2 separate regions of the Homo sapiens genome follow, and region 2 is linked to region 1. Evidence: promoter capture Hi-C in 16 types of primary human blood cells and fetal thymus (Javierre and others, 2016). All regions are on one chromosome and are shown on one strand. The core of a region is centred on a gene start or on the middle of the fragment in contact, and the rest is flanking DNA. Distances in the headings are between cores, read along the strand shown. Region 1 has its middle 39 kb from the start of KRTAP19-8. Region 2 holds the start of KRTAP13-2 (keratin associated protein 13-2).

What was found. Contacts are between HindIII fragments. The CHiCAGO score rates a contact against its expected background, and 5 or more counts as called.
Region 2: a contact is called between the fragment with the promoter of KRTAP13-2 here and a fragment that was not itself captured in region 1, in 4 of 17 cell types (activated CD4 T cells, naive CD8 T cells, naive CD4 T cells and 1 more). The highest score is 9.6, in activated CD4 T cells.

What each region holds. Positions count from the first base shown.
Region 1 is chr21:31,074,403-31,081,245 of GRCh38, reverse strand. No RefSeq gene overlaps it. Among named protein-coding and RNA genes, the nearest start is that of KRTAP19-8, 39 kb to the right of the region's middle. The HindIII fragment of the contact is 5,615 bases long and covers 1,548-6,843 here.
Region 2 is chr21:30,369,259-30,376,101 of GRCh38, reverse strand. KRTAP13-2 (keratin associated protein 13-2) reads left to right here and starts at 3,831. Exons shown (of 1, transcript NM_181621.4): 1 at 3,831-4,712. The coding sequence starts at 3,889. The coding sequence ends at 4,416. MIR4327 (microRNA 4327) reads left to right here and starts at 724; the gene lies at 724-808. The HindIII fragment of the contact is 2,756 bases long and covers 3,013-5,768 here.

The sequences.
Region 1 (6,843 bases), core at 3,106-5,605:
CAGGCATGAGTCACCGCGCCTGGCCTCTCTCAGGCTTTTAAGGTGATTTTGATGGTCCATCAGGTCTGAGAACTATGATTGAAGCATCATAGAACCGATCTGATGATGCAGTGGCAGGAGGAGAGAGGCATGTGTAGGCTCTAATCAGGCTGCCCTTCTAAAGATGATTTGTTTTTAGAAAATGCACAGGTAAAGGGGGCCTTGGCCATTTTGGTTTAGTCTCATGAAGGGTGTTTTAAACGGTTGCAAACTTTGTACACCTTCAACTGCAAAACATTGTTTTACCACAACTGTGTTGGCTTAAAATGAAGGGAAATTGATTAATGATCATGGACTGTTATTATTGTTGCAAGAAAAGAAACAAGTGGGACAGATTTTATAAAAGCAAGCAAGAGCCAAAAAGCCAGGGGAATACTGTAGAATTGAGTAGTCCTTGGTGAAAATTCACTTCCTATGCTTATCTTCCTGTATTGTCTGATACGTATCTTTTCAGCTTCTTCTATCATGCCAAGAAAACACTAACACATTTCATAAACTCTATGGGACAGGAGTCCAGGCATGGCTTAGCTGGATCCTCTGTAAAACCGCAATCAAGGTGTTGACCAGGACTATGGTCTCATCTAAGGCTCAACGGGGGAAGGATTTGCTTCCAAGGATGCATGATTATTGGCAGAATTCAGTTCCTGGCAGGCTGTTGAATTGTGGGCTTCAGTTTCTTACTATCAGCCAAGGGCCACTGACACGTGCCCACTCCATAGACAGTTCACAACATGGCAACTTGCTTCTTCAAAGCCACCAAAGGAGACACAGTCTCCTAGCAAGGTGGGCATCACAGTCTTCTCTTACGTAATCGTGCATACATAGTCATGTTGGTCATTTTCTCTTGAACTGAGCAACTTATTTTACTTTCCAGAGCTTTGATTTCTTCATTTACACAGGGAAGGAAATAATGCCTTCCATAAAGGAGCTGGGTCATCAGCATCAAATAAGATGACGTGTAAGTGGCAGCTGGTGCAGTAAAGGGTACCTGGATTATTCCCTCCTTTTTCCCAGCCCACCTCTCTCTACCCTGGCTGTCCACCCCTGTACACACACATACTCCCAATGCCCAGTGCCCTGCAGTTTTCATTGCTGCCCTCACTCACATTCAAGTCTGCTCTTAGGAAGCCTTGCATTTGGGGGCAGGGGGTGATGGAAGAGTAAAATGGAAGGCTGGTGAGAAGTCATTGGAAATGTAGGTGAAAGGGATGATTGTGGGGTGATTTCACAGTTAATGGTGAATTCCTGCTTGATGTTACACAGTTTTTTTTTTTTTTTCAGTCCATCTCTAATGGTGGAATAAAAGGCTCTCTTGCTCCAGTTTCAGATGTAGTGGGAGCTGGGGTGGGGAGGAGGTAGTTGGGGACATAGGGCTTTCTCAGCTCTGGAATCATGCAATAGACTTATTTCTTTCTTCATCTACCACAGTAGTCAGCCAAGTCAAAAAAGAAAAGCCTACCCAGGCCTTTGTTTAGTGACTTGGGAGATAGTGGAGGGGATGCAAAGCTTCATTGTTCTTATTGAGGCAAAGGAAGTATTCCTTAGATTCATTGTTACATCATGATTGCATGGGTCTTGTTTTTAGAGTCACTAGCTCTTTGGCCTAGAACAAACCACTCAACTTTACTGAGCCTCAGTTTCCTCATCTGCAGCAGGCCAGGGTACCATTCTGTCCTTGCCTATCATTAGAAGGCTGGAGGTAGAGAAAATTAAATGAGAAAATAGATGAGAAAGCATTTTGGCTATGAGCGATGGCTCAGGCCTGTCATCCCAGCACTTTGGGAGGCTGAGGTGGGAGGATTGCTTGAGCCCAGGAATTCGAGACCAGCTTTGGCAACATAGTGAGACCCCATTTTTATTGAAAAATAAAAATAAATGTAAAAAGAAAGCACTTCATAAGCTATAAAGTGCCATACATATCACAAACATTGAGTATCTTTGCTAACAGCTTGGACGGATTCTGGCTCCAGATAAGAGGAATGTAACTTGACCATTGTTTCCAGCAGGACATGAAGCAATGTCTTTACCTAGTTAACGTCATGTTTGGTACGTTCTGCTCCTCTTTTCCCATGTCAACAAAGCTATTACTTTGTGCACCATTTCCCTGAAGGCTGGAGGATTGGCTAGAGATGCTGATAGGAGGCAAGATTGAATTACCAACTTTGAACTGAAAAGATGGGTGACTCAAAGCCACAGTAGCCAGGACTGGGTGGGGAGATATCATAGAAAACTGAACCACAGATAAAATTCATGTTTTGATTTGTTCTTTCACTTTCTCTTGGACTAACTTTAAAACCAAAAACCGATGAGAGTCATCACTCAAATAGATACTGGCTTTCAGGCTGTTCTCACAGAAAACCTCAGGCATTGCTTATGTTCTTGGGGTCTGCGTTGCTTTGTGTCCTGAATCAAGTCAGTTGCAAGTGAAAAAAAGGTCAATAAACTCAAATTAATAAAGCAAGGACATATTATCTCACTTAACTGAAAAGCTCGGGGGTTCCAGGGGTGTTTTGGGGTGTTGCCTTGATGTCTCTGTTTTCAGTTCTGCTCTTTTCTGTGCTGATTCTGATCTCAGCCTGATGTCCCTCTGTGGTCTCAAGGTAGCTCCCGACAGCTCCCACTAATCCCCAGTCCTCTCTTCCCACCAATTTCAACAAGAATCCCATACTGAGTCTTCTGCTGGCACTGAAGGGTTATTATCTGCAGAGCGACATGCAAATAAAACTTTTCAGAAGATGATGGTATTGGCGGTAGTGTTGTTAATGTGTATAGGCCTGTGTATATGGCACGGCAGGCAGTGGAAGAAGAAATGATTAACAATGGTTTAAGTTGTCTGCTTAAAACCAGGTGTATTTGTCTTCTGTGGTTTCTGTCACAAATTATCACAAATTATGTAGCTTAAAACAGAAACTTATTCTCTCAGAGTTCTGGAGGCCAGGAGTCTGAAATGGGGTTGTTGTCAGGGTCAGGGCTATACTCCTTCTAGAGGCTCCAGAAGATATTCCATCCATTGCCCCTCTGGCTTCTGGTTGCTGTCGGCATTCTTGGGTGTGTGGTTGCATCTCTCCAATCTCCACCTCCATGGTTACATTGCTTCCTCCTATTCTCTGTGTCTTCCCCTCTTCTGTCTCAAATTTCCCTTTGCCCTTTGTTTATAAGGACACTTGTCATTGAAGTTAGGGCCCACCTAATTATCCAGGATCATCTTATCTCAAGATTCTTAATCACAACTGCAAACATACTTCTCCCCAATAAATTAACATTTAAAGGTTTTGGGAATTAGGATGGGAACGTATCTTTTTCATTTTTATTCATTTTTTTGAGACACGGTTTCCCTCTGTCACCCAAGCTGGAGTGCAGTGGTGTGACCATAGCTCAGTGTAGGCTCGAACTTTTGGGCTCAAGAGATCCTCCTGCCTCAGCCTCCCTAGCAGCTAGTACTATAAGCATGCAGCATCACATTCAGCTAGTTTTTTTTTTTTTTTTGTAGAGATGGGGTCTTGCTGTGTTGCCCAGGTTGGTCTTGAATTCCTGGGCTCAAATGATCCTCTCACGTTGGCTTCCTAAAATGCTGGGACTACTGGCATGAGCCACCACACGTGACCCTATTTTTGGGGACCACCATTCCACCTATTATACTATAACAGGATATGTATAAATGTTCTCCTGAAATTCTCTCTAGGTCTTGAATATTTTTCTCTGGTTGCTTAAGCTCTAATTTAAGTCATGTTTTCAGAGCCAATTTCTCCAGCAGACCTGTAAAAGATCTAAACTCTACTTTGAATTCTCAAATGGAGGTGAGGGGCAAGACTTGAAGGAAGTGAGAGGAACTGATTTGGAACTGTGATTGCTGAGGAGGGGAAGAAGGGCATGAGGGCAGGTGGGGAGCAGACTCCAGAGAGTGCAGTTTACTGGCTCCTAAGAGAGGCTGTTGCTTGAGACCATTCCTCACAGACCCTGCCTCGCCCATAGGCTGACAGTAAGAAACCACGTGTGATAACCTTTTCAGAGTCTCCAGGGAAATTTAGCTTTCTGTAACAGCACAAAGCTCATACAAACCCATCTCCTATAAGTGTTTGCATATAGGGTTGCATATTTCATTTATAATAAATTAGATTTTTTCTCATCCCAGGTAGGAAATCATTTCCTAAGAGTTGCTAATCTTACCGAATGAAAGATAATTCATGAGCTTCATGTTTATCTGGTGAATATAATAACATATTGCAAAGAAACAGGTCTTCTGCATTTCATTTTCATGCAGCCACTAGTTTTGGGCCCAACTGTGCTCTGCTCATGGCTGTGATCACCGTAGCTGCTTCTCCCAGCACCCGGTGGTCTGTGATAATTAGCAAGTGCACCTGGAAAGTTCTAGAACTGCTTGGAAATGGAAGTGCCAAGTGATATGATTCTGCGACTACAAAGGATATGTGAGGATTAAGGCAGGGCTGGTCCTGAGCCCTCATGCACTCTGTCTTTGGGAGAGTCACAGCGAGTTGAAAGTTTCACACTAGTCTATAGCCTTTGGGTGAGCCAGGTCTCATGGTGAGAGCTTTGCACAATCAGTGCAGAAGGACAAATAGGGAATGTAGTTCCCCTCAGTTGCACTGGGCCACCTGTGATATGCTCGTGGAAGAGCCCCGGGGTTGTCTTCACCCTTCCTGCCATCTTGTCAACTTTCAAGTTTTCAGGGTCACCAGGGCCTCTGTCTTCTACATGGAAGACAGAAGTCTGATTATCTTTCCATTGGTCTCTGCCTTCGTTCTTCATGCCACCAGCAGGATTATCTTCTGAAACTTTATACACAAGTCATTCCTCAGTAGATAACCCTTCCCTGCTTGCCTCATTGTCACCAAATAATGTTCCAACTCGACAGCCCAGCTCTGAAGACCCTCCTGGGTCTGGGGGTTATCTACCCCTTAAAAATATATTTTTCTTTTCTCCTTAATGAGCCGTCAACTCTTCCACATCTTTAGCTCTTTTTGCTACTTTGAATGACCTCCACTAAACTGTATTGTCAGCTTCCTTATTAGTTGAATGGGAATGACATCCTTAACTCTCCCAGACAGAGCGGTTGATTAAATGGACTATTTAATGGAAAGTTTCTAGGACAGCACCTGATGCACTTATGTGATTACAGCGTGATTACGCAACCTCCATCTTTGGGAATTACTTATTACAAGCTCTCCCTCATAGCTTAGCTTGAGAGCTGCTGCTTCTCTGATGCTGTCGTTGTCCCCTCAGCTTTGGGAGATTTTTTTCCCACTGAAATTCAAAGCACTTCATCGCCATGGCATAATTTGGTGTTATGTACAAGTTACTGTGTGCTTGGGTTTGGTATCGGGTCCAATTTTATGTGCCTCTCAGTGCCCCATGTTACATCTTTTCTTTCCCATAAGTCTTGAACCATAACTTCCTCTGTGGCAAGGGCTCTCTGGGCAGCTGTGCCCCTGGCTCACTTCCTACACATCACAGAGCTCACTGTGACTATGCAATGTGGCTGTTGTGACCTCCACTGTGCTCATGGATGTAGAACCACAGCATATCCAGCACTAAAGTGATAGAGTCTTGGTCCTGTGGCCAAGAAGAAGCAAGATGGAAGCCCAGCTAGTTTCCCTGGGGATGAATTGTCTTAACTAAGTTCCTGGGGCCTTGAATGTAGTAGCTAAAGACAGACCAGGGGGGTTTGAGGTCCCATGCTTCCATCAAGGTCTGTCCTGCAAAGGCATCCCTAGAGACAGTGGATCAGTTGAGTTTGAACTTGGAGTTAGCTAAGACCAGGCTCACAGGGCTCTGGCCTTCCTACTCCTTTAGAACTGAGATAAAGACTGTGTTCAGGGAGTGATGTCTGGTTTCCCAATGGCTTCCCAGAGCGACCAGGTAACACAACTTATATGAACTTGGACTGATGAGAATGGGAGACAAGAACAAGCCTACAGATCAATTGCTCTCCTTCCCTCCCCATGTGGTTCTAGTTTCCGGGTAGCATCTGGAGGCTGTCCATGTGATAGGCACGATATACTTGATTTTGAAGATGTGCCCAGCTGGGAGAGGATACCCTTCTATTTGCTATGTTTTGCCACTCTACTGTCCTTTCCTCCACTCCAGATTCCAGTGTGTTGCACTCCTCAGGAAAACCGGATGCAAGCGTTGCCTAAGTTTTTGCTTCCTAAGGAAGCATGCCCTGAAAATTTTTATCTACCATCTCTCTTTTTCCTCCTCTCCTCCCTTTCCTTTCCCTCTCATTTCCTCTTCTCCTCTGGTCTTCTCTGTTTTTCTTTCTTCTCCTCTGTTACTTATTTTGTTCAAAAACCAAATCATAGAAATTTGATTTTTCTAGGGAAGGCTCCCACATTGCTTCACTCTGAGGCTAAAGCCCTAAGGAATCATGGGGGCAGTAGCCTTCTGAGTGGGATTCAGGATGCTGAGCTTGATAAAATATTCTTTTTCATTTTTAGAGACAGAGTGTTCCTCTGTGGCCCAGGCTGGAGTGCAGTGGCATGATCATAGCTCACTGCAGCCTCAAACTCCTGGGCTCAAGCAGTCCTCCTGCCTCAGCCTCCCAAATATCTGGGATTACAGATGCTGGAGCTTGACAAAATAAACGTGGGTACACCCCAATTTTAAGTGATCCTCTGGTTTTAACTTCGTTTCCTTTATAAAAGAGGTTCCCATAACCACCTATCACATATAAAAATTATTTGATTAATACATTTCAGTTGGCGATGAACTTTGTAGTTGCAGCCGCAGTGTAAGAAGTCAAGGGAGAGGCTGGCCACAGAGGAGAAGACATGTACCCGCTCTCCC
Region 2 (6,843 bases), core at 2,582-5,081, 700 kb after region 1:
CCAGATTTGATCATTACACATCGTGTGCCTGTATCAAAATATCACATGTACCCCATTAATATGCGCAACATTATGTATCCATAAACATTTAAAATAAAAAAGAGAAAGATGAACGCAAATCTGACAACGTGGTAACAATTGTGAGTTTAGGCATCCAGAAAATGACTCTAGAATTTACTTTAATTTTCTATTTGTTTTCAGTAAATGCAAGGGTAAGGTCTCAGAAGAGATAAGAAGAACCGAGAGGTGTGTAAGCAGGCTGTTTATAAATCTTTTTGTTTGTTTGTTTGTTTGAGACGGAATCTCACTCTGTCGCCCAGGCTGGAGTGCAGTGGCATGACCTTGGCTCACTGCAACCTCTGCCTTCCAGTTTCAAGCGATTCTCCTGCCTCAGCCTCTCCAGTAGCTGGGATTACAGATGTCTGCCACCACGCCTGGCTAATTTTTGTATTTTTAGTAGAGACGGGATTTCGCCATGTTTGAAAGGCTGGTCTCAAACTCCTGACCTCGTGATCCACCTGCCTCGGCCTCCCAAAGTGCTGGGATTACAGGCGTGAGCCACTGCGCCCAGCCTGGCCTTTTTATTTCAAACGAAAGTCATGGATGATGAAGACATAAAATGGATGAATTTGAAGCAGGAAGAGCTGTAGTGAAGTTAGAGGAGGTGCCAGGGCCTGGAAAAGTCTCAAACAATGAGGCCGGATGACCTCCGAGAAAGCCACAGGCCTGGGTAGGCTTGCATGGGGGACTGGGAAGAGACCATGAACAGGTTAGTCCAGGGAGTTCTCATCAAGCCTTTACTCAGTAGTGGGTTCTTCATAGTTAGCATTAATGTTTAATAGATACATTTCCCCTTGGGTGAGAATTTTAAAAATAAAATCTAGTGTAAAGCAGCTGTTATGAAGACTCTTTAGTGACCAGACAATAAAAGCCTCTCCTAGGTCTAGAGAAGGCAGAAAATTAAAAAGTGAACAGAAAGTAAAAAGGTGGCCGGACGCGGTGGCTCACGCCTGTAATCCCAGCACTTTGGGAGGCCGAGGCGGGTGGATCATGAGGTCAGGAGATCAAGACCATCCTGGCTAACATGGGGAAACCCCGTCTCTACTAAAAATACAAAAAATTAGCCAGGCGTGGTGGCGGGCACCTGTAGTCCCAGCTACTCGGGAGGCTGAGGCAAGAGAATGGTGTGAACCCGGGAGGCAGAGCTTGCAGTGAGCCAAGATTGCACCACTGTACTCCAGCCTGGGTGACAGAGCCAGACTCCGTCTCGGAAAAAAAAAAAAAAAAAAGAAAGTAAAAAAGGTATAGGGCAGTATATATGGATTTTTACTATTTCTACTACTGCCTAATATTTGGTTAATTTGAAAGCTTTTGAAGAATCTCTGGAAACATTGCAATAGAAGATTGTCAGTTTAAAGCTTCTGCTACATTACTATGTTAACTTGGAAAAACAATCACTTTTCAAGTAATTCAGATCATAGGCTACTTGTGGCTACTGTGTACTGTAATGATAGTTTTATTCTCTGTAGTGTTGTTATGCCTAAATTTCTAAAGAGAAAAGAGAAAGAAGAAAGAAAGAAAGAGAAAAGAAAGAAAGAAATAGAAAGAAAGAGAAACAGAGAAAGAGAGAGAGGGAGAAAGGGAGGGAAGGAGGCAGAGAGAGAGGGAGGGAGGGAAAGAAAAGAAAGAAAAAGAAAAGGAAAGAGAGGCAGAGAAAGAAAAGAAAGAAAAAGAAAAAGAAAGAGGGAGGGAGGGAAGGAAGGAAGGAGAGAGAGAGAAAAGATTTCAATATCACGTTTTCCCTGACATATCAAGATAGTGAATTTTTCTTTCTATACTAATACTTTGCCTGTGTATGTAGAGTACGTAGAGTATTTTATTAGTTCCAGAATCCACTTTTGAACTGTTAAGGCTACTCTAGTTTTGTTCTGCTTTTTCTGCCTTTCAGATGGACACATTTATTAGCATTTGGGAGTTGTTCATTAGCATTTGTACAAAGTGCACAAATAACTCCTAATAAAAAGTGTTAACCCAATTAGGAATGGGTGGAGGGACTGTTAATTGGAACTGACTTACTCCCAAGTTATTTTAGTGTTTATTCCCAGACATAGGGAGCTGGTCTAGAAAGGCAAGAACTTTTGGATATTAGTAAGTTTTTTGTTTTCTTTTTTTTGAGCAGAATCAACCTGTAGTAAGAAAAGAAAAATATTTCTCATTTTAAAGGTGTTAAAAGCTGCCATTATAAGGAATCCCATGTGTTGGGGGTGGTGCATACTTTTTGGTGAATTTAATAGGTGTCCATTCATAAAGCACAGCTTATTTTACTTCAGTGAATCAGAGTGATGGTTTAAGTATTGCACAAGGGCACTTCATGTGATGCATGCCACACTTTGGATTCTGCATGGGAGAGATAATCATAAAACAAAGTAACTAAGTGCTCTGAAACAGTGTGCTTTGGAATGAAGGAAGTTAATTTTCAGGTAGTTAAGAGGCTCTCTTTTCGATAACCATTGTGAATGCCATTTCCCTTAGTTAAACCAAATAAAATGTCAAATTCAAAAGAAGAAGAATAGACACAGATAAGAAGCCTCTTCCCCCCATTAATCTAAACATGGATTACCAATATTCTTTCTCTTTCTTGGGCTAGGAAGTGAAATATACTTCAAATGTATGAAGATCAGTAAGGCATAGAATTCCCCAGTTGAACACTATTCAGTGTGAATATTGTTAGGAAAAGTAAATAAGGCTTTGTTAGGCTTTTATATCTTAGTATAAATAAGCTTAATAGTTTCTTTTCTGAGACAAGTTAAAGTTGAATTTACTTTTATATTTGCAAGGTATTTGCAACTTGACTCTGAATAAGAAAACCATAATTAAAGCTTCAATTTTGCTTCTATCTTACTGAGAAATTAGGGGAAAGTTAAAGCTCTCTGAGAGGTAATTTTTCCATGTATGGGTTGAACAGGGGATGTTTAAAGACCCATATAACTCTAATACTTCAAGTTAAAAGCTTCAGAAAAATGTTAACAATTCCTCAAAGTTTAAGTATAAATTAATAATTGCAGCTAAGAATCTGTCCTTTTATCCAGAAAAAAAAATTGAAACATAAAACAAAATAAAATTTATGAGTTGATTTAGAGCATAACCATAGAATAGTGCTTGCTACAAGATAGGTTCATCAGAAAATATCTGAAAAACTTCAATTTAAAGTCTTACTAAAAAGTTTGTGTTTATTGTTTCCTAAGTGAGCATTGTCTAAAGTAGCCTCTTGTTAAGGAAGATGCCTGATATGGACACCCAACATAATGCTGCACTCCTCAGTTCTGATCCTGAGCTCTTAAGGTACTAGTAAAAGGTTTAACTGACAGATTGCTGAGGCTACTGAATACAGTTAGTATTTGGAGAAATCCTCCGTTTCTGGTAACAAATAATATGCTTGTGTTAAAAAGAAGGACAATCTATTTTGAGTAGTAACCACTGATGCTCCTGATAACTTAAGGGAAGTAAAGAAAGAATTTTGTGTAATTCCATTTGGTACAATAAGGACTCACTGTACTCAAATAATAAGAGGCAAGATACTCATAAATGTGATGACATATAACATTGAAGGTCAAACCACAGTGAATTCCAGGAAAAAAAAAAACTGAGTGGCTTCCTTCTAAGTGTTCCAGAGTGACTAAAGTACAAGTAAGTATATGAAGATGTGATAAATTAAACAATAACCTAGGGAAGCATTCTTATAATAAAAAGTGAGCAAGGAGAAGGGAGTGTCGAGACAGTGGACACACCCAGGTCTAAGAGCATATATAACTTGGAGTCCAGACTATGACATTCAAACTCAGAGAATCTTTCCACTATAACTCAGCTGAACTCACATCTCCCGTCAACATGTCCTACAACTGCTGCTCTGGAAACTTCTCCTCCCGCTCCTGTGGTGACTACCTGCGCTACCCAGCATCCTCACGTGGCTTTTCCTACCCCAGCAATCTGGTCTACAGCACTGACCTCTGCTCTCCCAGCACCTGCCAGCTGGGTTCCTCTCTCTATAGGGGCTGTCAGGAGATCTGCTGGGAGCCCACCAGCTGCCAGACGTCCTATGTGGAGTCCAGCCCCTGCCAGACCTCCTGCTACCGCCCCAGAACCTCCTTGCTCTGCAGTCCTTGCAAGACGACTTACTCTGGGTCTCTAGGCTTTGGATCCAGCAGCTGCCGCTCCCTGGGCTATGGATCGAGGAGCTGCTACTCAGTGGGCTGTGGGTCCAGTGGTGTCAGATCCCTGGGTTATGGAAGCTGTGGCTTCCCTTCCCTCGGCTATGGATCTGGATTCTGCCGCCCAACCTACTTGGCTTCTAGGAGCTGCCAGTCTCCTTGTTACAGACCAGCCTATGGATCAACCTTCTGCAGATCAACTTGCTGAATTTCCAGACCTTTTAAGCAAAGTGTCTCAGTCTCTACGTAGAGCTGTTATCATAGGCATTTCCAGCAATGTGAGCTAACCCCTCTTACTACTAGCTCTTCATCCTTTCTCTGGCATCAAGTACTGGCTGGACAGGCTAGTTCTTTCAGACTGTGAAATTAATGAATGAGCAAAATATAGAGTCAAATGTCTATAATTTTGAAACAAGTGATTCGTTATCACGTAAGTTCATCTTATAAAGTATATGGAAGTTCAGTTTTGTTTCACGTAATAAATTCATTTACTGTTGATTCCAATATGTTCTCTTTGTCTTTTATTGGTTTCCAAAGTTTGATTTGTGATCTGTTTTGGGGGCTCCAGGCCCCCAGACGTCTTTTCCTTGGACATCCATTTCCATCGGTAATGTCATCAGGCCTAGTGTGTGGGGAGATTCTCCGGGCATGCCAGTGCCTAAAAGACTGAGCAAGTGCATGTCTTCTGCCATGAAAACTGGTTGGATTCTTAACAGAATTATTGAGAGTACACTCATAATGGTGGTGTGTTTTCAAGGAAGACACATTTTGCTGACAATCATATTTGCTTTTTGTTTACATTTTTAAAAGAGTATTTAGAGTTTTCTCAGAAGATGTCAACTAGGTGATTAAATATAAAATTATGAAATATTTGAATAAATCTGAAATGTTATGATGGAAAAGGGAAAATATGAAATGTTAGGTACTGGAGGACATTACGGTTGTGTTTAAATATAGGAGAAAATTAATTATTCAGTGTGTGTGTGTGTTTGTGTTGTGTGTGTGTGAGAAAGAGAGAGAGAGCACAGAAGACAGAAAGACTTAAGGTTTACAACTGTGAGTAATGGAAACAGTTATAGGGAGAAATACTTTGGCTTGTTTTAAATGTATATTTATAAATCATAAATTTATAGAACTATTATGACCTTTGTGTTTTCTTTGGATTATTGAGTTTATCAACAAGGAAAAAGATATTACTTTTCAGTGATTTCTGCATTGAGTGGCAGTTAAAATTAGATTACTTTCAATGTTCTAGATTTTATAACCTCCCTCAGTATCCTTGGAATCCACTGCTCAGCTGTGACAGTGTGAATAAAAATAAATATTTGTAGGATGCTATTCACATCTGAGATATAAGACCTTCTCTATTTATTTTAATTTAAGCAAGTGATTTCTTTCAGAGGCTAAAGGTAGTGTAAAAGTTCAGCTAAAACTTTTTCATAAAATATTCAATAACAACTCTCCATGAATGGGAAAACAACTTTGAAAGATTATCATTTCCTCCAATAATATGTCACGAGCTTTAATTGATTTTTTTCCCTGACACCTTTCCCTTAAGCTTTTTATAATTAAACCTGAAAAAAGAGGGTATCTTTTCTCTTATAATGGAGACAATACGGGCTAAGCATGGAAGTGTGGGAACCACATCCTCTGATCATAGAAACCTGCCGCCACAGAAACTAGAAGAATAGAGAAGGGAAACACGGGAAGAAACTCCTGGCAACACAGAAGCCTCTGATTCCCATGTACCTTAAGCCAGCTTTATTCATCCTTTAAGTGCTTTGATCATATGGGTCAATAAAGTCTTCTTTAGGTTTAAACTAAATAAAATAATTGAAATAAAATAAGACTTCTGGCACTCTCATACAAAGATTTACAATACTGGCAAACCAAATCAAGCAACACATCAAAAAGCTTATCCACCATGATCAAGTGGGCTTCATCCCTGGGATGCAAGGCTGGTTCAACACACACAAATCAATAAACGTAATCCAGCATATAAACAGAAGCAAAGACAAAAACCACATGATTATTTCAATAGATGCAGAAAAGGCCTTTGACAAAATTCAACAACCCTTCATGCTAAAAATTCTCAGTAAATTAGGTATTGATGGGACTTATCTCAAAATAATAAGAGCTATTTATGGCAAACCCACAGCCAATGTCATACTGAATGGGCAAAAACTGGAAGCATTCCCTTTGAAAACTGGCACAAGACAGGGATAACCTCTCTCACCACTCCTATTCAACATAGTGTTGGAAGTTCTGGCCAGGGCAATCACGCAGGAGAAGGAAATAAAGCGTATTCAATTAGGAAAAGAGGAAGTCAAATTGTCCCTGTTTGCAGATGACATGACTGTATGTCTAGAAAACCCCATCGTCTCAGCCCAAAATCTCCTTAAGCTGATAAGCAACTTCAGCAAAGTCTCAGGATACAAAATCAATGTGCAAAAATCACAAGCATTCCTATACACCAATAACAGACTAACAGGGAGCCAAATCATGAGTGAACTCCCCTTCACAATTGCTACAAAGGAATAAAATACCTAGGAATAAAACTGACAAGGAATGTGAAGGACCTCTTCAAGGAGAACTACAAACCACTGCTAAATGAAATAAAAGAGGATACAAACAA